Regions from separate parts of the Homo sapiens genome. Here region 1 is linked to region 2. Evidence: promoter capture Hi-C in 16 types of primary human blood cells and fetal thymus (Javierre and others, 2016). All regions are on one chromosome and are shown on one strand. The core of a region is centred on a gene start or on the middle of the fragment in contact, and the rest is flanking DNA. Distances in the headings are between cores, read along the strand shown.

The links. The method cuts DNA at HindIII sites, captures the fragments that hold promoters and counts their contacts. A CHiCAGO score of 5 or more calls a contact.
Region 1: a contact is called between the fragment with the promoter of TBX21 here and the fragment with the promoter of SCRN2 in region 2, in 1 of 17 cell types (M1 macrophages). The highest score is 5.2, in M1 macrophages.

Annotation. Positions count from the first base shown.
Region 1 is chr17:47,731,068-47,734,485 of GRCh38, forward strand. It overlaps TBX21 (T-box transcription factor 21), which reads left to right and starts at 2,169. Exons shown (of 6, transcript NM_013351.2): 1 at 2,169-2,878. The coding sequence starts at 2,388. RefSeq lists a promoter at 177-2,176, silencers at 1,988-2,527, 2,558-2,727 and an enhancer at 2,908-2,957. The HindIII fragment of the contact is 7,327 bases long and covers 1-3,418 here.
Region 2 is chr17:47,840,023-47,843,285 of GRCh38, forward strand. SCRN2 (secernin 2) reads right to left here and starts at 1,251. Exons shown (of 8, transcript NM_138355.4): 1 at 1,186-1,251; 2 at 648-821; 3 at 169-350. The coding sequence starts at 821. RefSeq lists enhancers at 720-819, 723-1,278, 3,101-3,150. The HindIII fragment of the contact is 11,110 bases long and covers 1-3,263 here.

The sequences.
Region 1 (3,418 bases), core at 919-3,418, 110 kb before region 2:
ATGGCCCCAGGGCCACCTGATTCTGAGATTCATAATTCCACCTGCCCCAGAAAGCTGGGTGGGAGCTCATGTCATCCTGTTCAGAGGCAAGGGGATGAATCACTTGACCTGAGGATTAATGTGGAAAAGAGGAGGGGGAGAGAGAGGGAGGAGCAAGACTCCATTTGATCTTCAACAGCCAAGCACTGAGCAAAAATGTCCCCCAAAGGGGTGTCAGCATTCAACAGTCTCACATCTCCTAGGGAATCAGTCATTCAGGAGGGTCTTACTGAAAGCTCTCATGTTTCCCCAAAAGTAGTGAAGGATCCCAAGGTCACCCTCTCTTCCAAGCAATGCTGCCCCACTTTGAACATCAGGCAGAAACTTCCCTGTTCCTTAAGGTACGGAGAAATGGTGGGTAAGGTGTTGGGGAGGAGGCCAGTCCTGTGTTTCTGGTACTGTCATGTATCCGGTCTCCAACCTCAAAAGATGTGCTGATTCTCTCTCCCCCAAGCCTCCCTGGGTCATGCCCACCTCCTGGAGTCCCCAGCTTTGCCTTTGCCTGCCAACTTGCCTCTTGGTTCAGCTCTATTTGGGAGCAGAGAGTCCCCATAGGCCCCTAAGGGTGAAGCCCTGTCAGGCTGGGACAGAAATGTAGAGCTGGGGCCAGTTCCCAGGGGAGAACTGGGGAGGACTGGGGTGAAGGTAGAGAGAGGAGAAGTTAAACTTTAACATGACAAAAATATTAAAGTATTTTTCAAAGTACTCTTAAAAATGTAAATCTTTATCTATATACTGATATGCAAAATATTCCATGACACCTTGTGGAGTGAAAAAAAAGTACACATTATAAAGCAGCATGTGTAGTGTTTATATAAATTATATATTTGTGCATGTGTGCAAAAGACAGAGACAGAGAGTATATAAGGAGTGAGGTCTCAGAGGGTGTTCACTGAAATGTTAATCCTGTTTGGCTTTAGGGGGTGGAATTTGGGGTGATTTATACAGTCTTGTTTTTACTTTTCTGTGCTGCTTAAATTTCCTATATAAGTATGTTTCATCTTTATACACAGGAAAACTCCCAATGATGCTATTTTCAATTGGGGGGGGGGAAACGGATAGTTTTCATCATAAAAGGAGTCTAATACATTAGTTAACATAAAAGGAAAATGGAGAAAGAAAAGCCTCCATCGTCCTATCTCCGAGGCAGCCCTTCAGAGCATGTGGTGGGTTTCCTTCCTGTCAGCCGGCTCTGAATCTGTTCAAAGCAGCTTTTCCATCCAGGTATAATAATAGATTGGAAAGTGCTGCACACGTACACCCTCTCATGTAAGGCTTGCAGCCCCCCTGAAAAGTAGATCTGTTTATTTCCCCCAGTCTATGGATGAGGCACGTGAGGTTGACTTTCAGGCAAGGAAAATGACTTGCCTGGGTCACATATACCTGGCAGGCAGAGCCAGACCTGGGACTCTCAGCACTGGCAGCCCAATGCTACTTCCAGTGCCCATGACTGCCATGCAGGGTAGGGGAGCTTTTGTGGGCCCTGCCAGGCCCAGCTCAGGGCCCTGCAAACCCCTGGCTGCTGCTGATGCAGTGCGCTTTAAGGAACATTTCCTGTTGTCCATCAGGTTCCAGGTCTGCCCCCAGGGCTAGAGCTACAAGATGCAGCCAACTCAGCACATGTGGACCTCTGGTGGGGAGAAAGAGGGCAACCCGAAAGGTCACTTAGCACAGAGTCTGGGCACACAGTAGGTATCAATAAAGATCGATTGAATGTTCATGGTCAAAGTTGCTTCTAGTGTGCCCGTGCTCCGAGCCTCTGAGTGCCAGGAGAATGCCCAGCGAGTCCCACTTGGGCCATCTCGGAAGGCTTCCTGTAGGAGAGGGCCTTTGAGCTGAGACTTCAAAGCTGGGCTGAATTTCCCCGAGGGTCCAGAAGAGAGCCACGGGCTGGTGTGTCAGGCAGCGGAGCTGACACTCCCAGAAAGCAAGATCTTCGAACTACAGGGTGCGCGCAGGCTCTCGCTTCTCTCCACCATGGGGGGCCCTGCAGTACTCGCCAAGAGCGTAGAATTTGCCTAGTATTAGCCACGAGAGGGCGGGGTGGGGCGAGGCGGAGCAGGGCCGAGGTGGCGGAGTGGGGGGGAGCCGGAGAGCTTCATAAAGCCACAGCAAAGCGCTGCGACTCTAGTGACAGCGGCCCGCTGGAGAGGAAGCCCGAGAGCTGCCGCGCGCCTGCCGGACGAGGGCGTAGAAGCCAGGCGTCAGAGCCCGGGCTCCGGTGGGGTCCCCCACCCGGCCCTCGGGTCCCCCGCCCCCTGCTCCCTGCCCATCCCAGCCCACGCGACCCTCTCGCGCGCGGAGGGGCGGGTCCTCGACGGCTACGGGAAGGTGCCAGCCCGCCCCGGATGGGCATCGTGGAGCCGGGTTGCGGAGACATGCTGACGGGCACCGAGCCGATGCCGGGGAGCGACGAGGGCCGGGCGCCTGGCGCCGACCCGCAGCACCGCTACTTCTACCCGGAGCCGGGCGCGCAGGACGCGGACGAGCGTCGCGGGGGCGGCAGCCTGGGGTCTCCCTACCCGGGGGGCGCCTTGGTGCCCGCCCCGCCGAGCCGCTTCCTTGGAGCCTACGCCTACCCGCCGCGACCCCAGGCGGCCGGCTTCCCCGGCGCGGGCGAGTCCTTCCCGCCGCCCGCGGACGCCGAGGGCTACCAGCCGGGCGAGGGCTACGCCGCCCCGGACCCGCGCGCCGGGCTCTACCCGGGGCCGCGTGAGGACTACGCGCTACCCGCGGGACTGGAGGTGTCGGGGAAACTGAGGGTCGCGCTCAACAACCACCTGTTGTGGTCCAAGTTTAATCAGCACCAGACAGAGATGATCATCACCAAGCAGGGACGGTGAGTGCGGCGCGCCGGCCCTTGGGGCCTCTGTGCCCGCGCCGGAACAAGAACGTCTCGTCTGTTTTTCTGGCTCGACAATGCTTCTGACTCCGTGTCCCTCACTGCTTTGGCTTCAGCGTAGGGAGACAGGGGAATGGGGTTGTTAGGAGGACAGGGAAAGCTCCGGAGGGGCGTCTGTGCCCAGGCTGTTGCACCAACAGCCAGAGGACTCACAAGGGAGACGGGTGAGTGCGGGACAGTGAGAAGTCACCTTGATTTAGGGGAAGGGTGACTGTGGCTTCACCTAGAATTGGTGTGCGCCCCTGCCCCACTCTCTACTGTAGAGGAGTCGCAGCGGGCAGTGAAAGCCTGTGCTCTGGGCGGACAGGACGCCTGGGCCTCCTGTGTGGGAAACTGGAGGGGAAGGGAGCCCCTTATCTCCGGGCCCCCTGCGCCCACCTCCCCCGGCTCCTTTGCTGCTGGTGTGCTCAGGTCAGCTTTAGTGGTGGTAGTGGTGGTGGTAGCGGTGGTGGTGGTGTGTGTGTACGGGGGGAGATT
Region 2 (3,263 bases), core at 1-2,500:
AAAGGTGGCTGCTGCTGCAGCCTTCTTCACGAAGGCACAAGGGCAAAGTCTGCAGAGAGGAGGAGGCCCCTGTGAACCAGGCTGGGGGAGGGATGGATGGGCCCAGGTCAAAACTCAGCCCCTAGATTTCTGGTGTGTCAGGCAGATGAGGAAGGGCAGGGTCTGCACCTGAGTAGGTCCATGCCCAGCAGGGCTTCCCCCTCCCCAACTGGCTCCTTCGTCCACACAGCCTCGTTGCCAATGCAGACACCATGCTCGTTGGCGCCCATCTCAGCCCCCCATAGCCAAGAAGGACGGCTCAGAATCACAGCGTGCGTCTTCGACACCTGTTCCACTTCAATGTAGGTGCACTGGAGGTGAGGGAGGAGAAAGGAAGCGTCCACTCATAGAGGGGCGGCCCCTCGAGTGTGGCACTCTGCCAATTACCTTATAGATCCCTTTGAGGAAGGTCTCATTCCCATTTTACAGAAGAGGAAACTGAGGTAGACTGAGGCTACATAATGAGCTCAGGTCCAGGTTGGTAGACCTAAAGCTCATGCTCTTCCACTACTTCTGGCAGCCTCCCAGGTGTGGGGAGCAGGGAAGAAGGTCTTAAAAGAATGCAGAGATCTGCCACACCTCCCAGCACCCCATAAAGTCTAACCCACCTGGAGCCGGCTCCCAGGAGTGTGAGTGCCTGCGGGGACAAACACCACCTCCTGCACCTCGTCCCGGGGTCGGTCCGAGTTCTTGGCAAAGATCACAGCCGGGATGGCTGAGGCCGGGGGCACGGAGACAAAGCAGTCGCAGGAACATGGGGAGTCAGGGCTCGACGACGCCATCTGGGGAGAGGCGGGCCTCTCCATAACCCTGGCCACGGCTCAGCCCCGAGGAGCAGCCTACCCCCACACGTGTAAAAGACGCGCAAGGAAGACACCGCCGTGGCTCCTGGACGCTCGGCGCACACACCATGGACGGGTGTGCGGGAACGGAGGTGCCCACCCTCTCCCCAGGCTCCAGGCTTGGGAGTCCGCAGGCGGGCACTCCGGGGGTCCCGCCCCCACTGGGAGTCCCGGCCCTTCGGAGCAGTCGTGGGACCGTCCCCCTCGCTACCCCACCAAGAGTCCTGCGGCCCTGCGCATGCCCAGATACCCGACCCTCTTCTGTCCAACCCTTCTCTCACCCCCAGTACTGTATTCCCCTCACCCTCTCTTCCTCCAAGACCCCAGCTCGGTCCCGGGTGCCACCTCCTCCGCTTCTGGCCAGGGCCGCCCCATTGGGCGGAGACTCTCAGGTGACCTGGAAGGCCTTCGGCCTCGGGGTCGGAGCCGGAACGGAGCCTGCAGCTCCGCCGTTTTCCACCAGGGCGCGCGCCTGCACCACTTCCCGGAGCAGAGCGGCCTTGCGAGTCCCACCTGGCTCCCTGTCCTACCCAGGCGCCCATTTGAGGCCTGACAAAGGCTGCTAACCCCACGGAGTCACTGCGGGGAGCTGGAGCTGGGGGTGGAAAGGATCCCGCGTGAAAAGGGAGACTTTGTCAGAGAAAGGGGACTGCTGGGACATCTGGAGATTAAGGAAGAACCTCAGATACTTGAGTCCTGGTTTGAATCCCAGAGGCGCAATCCCAGGCTGGAGGCGCCTAGGGGAATAAGATACAGAATACGAGAGTGGTGGAGGCTGGGTGCGGGGGGCTCGCACCTGTAATCCCAGCACTCTGGGAGGCGGTGGTGGGAGGATCACTTGAACCCAGGAGTTCAACACCAGCCTGGGTAACACAGCAAGACCTCGCCTCTACAGAAAATATTTTAAAATTAGCTGGGCGTGGTGGTGCGTGCCTCTAGTCCCAGCTGCTCTGAAGGCTGAGGTGGGAGGATCTCTTGAGCCAGAGAGATTGAGGCTGCAGTGAGCCAAGATCACACCGCGGTACTCCAGCCGCGGTGACAGAGCAAGACCCTGTCTCTTAAAATAAATAAATAAGGGAAAGTGTGCACAAAACCCATCTGATCCCAGAGGACCTATCTGTCTGATAGTGCTCAAACCCATAGGAAGATCGCTTTAAAGGGAAATTTAGAACTTTCTAGTTCAAAGATTTGGTGCCTTTACCTGTAGTGAAACTGAAACCACAAAGAAGTCTTGGCCAAAGGTGACACACAGTCATGTGGAGGTACACTCTGATCCCAAATGTTTTGATTTTCAGTTCATTTTTCTCTACAAACCATCTCTCCATAGCCATCATTAAGACAAATGCATCTTACACCCTTTTGCTCTGTGGAGCCCTCCAGAATGGAGAGAGGGGAGATGCTGCAGGTTATCTGCTTCTAGGGGTTGCACTGAATCTATAGATGGCTTTGAGTAGTATGCACATTTTAGCAATAGTAATTCTTCCAATCCGTGAGCATGAAATATCTTTCCATGTCTTTGTGTCTTCTTCAGTTTCTTTCATCAATATCTTATTTTCAGAGTACAGATCTTTCACCTCTTTGGTTAAATTTATTCCTAAATATTTTATTATTTTGGTAGCTATTGTAAATGGGACTATTTTCTTGATTTCTTTTTTGTATAGTTTGTTATTAGTGTATAGGAACACTATTGACTTTTGTACATTGACCTTGTATCCTCTGACTTTACTGTATTTGCTTAACAATTCTAACAGTGGGCCGGGTGTGGTGGCTCATGCCTGTAATCCTAGCACTTTGGGAGGCTGAGGTGGGCGGATCCCCTGAGGTTGGGAGTTCAAGACCAGCCTGGCTCACGTGGAGAAACCCCATCTGTACTAAAAATACAAAATTAGCCAGGCGTGGTGGCACATGCCTGCAATCCCAGCTACTTGGGAAGACTGAGGCAGGAGAATCGATTGAACCTGGGAGGCGGAGGTTGCGGTGAGCTGAGATCGCGCCATTGCACTCCAGCCTGGGCAACAAGAGCAAAACTCCGTCTCAAAAAAAAAAAAAAGAAAGAAAGAAAGAAAGAAAACAATTCTAACAGTGTTTTAGTGGAGTTTGGCCTTCTTTCAAGCCTACTGTGCTAGGGTGCTGGCGGTCAGTCATGCTAGGATTAATGGGAAGGTGAAGGCTGTTTCTGATACAGTGTCGGGGAGGGATTGTGAGGTTGCCAATTAATGTCATTCCAGAAGCAAACATCGAAGCTGCGTGCTGAGAAATCTGGGCACCTGAAGCAGCTTGCAGGAAGGCGGGTTCATCTCCTGCAGTTTCCCGGCTTCCCACTGTGGGGCGGAAACAGGCAGGAGGAGAGGCAGAGAGAGGCCACAGCGCACCCCCAGGTTG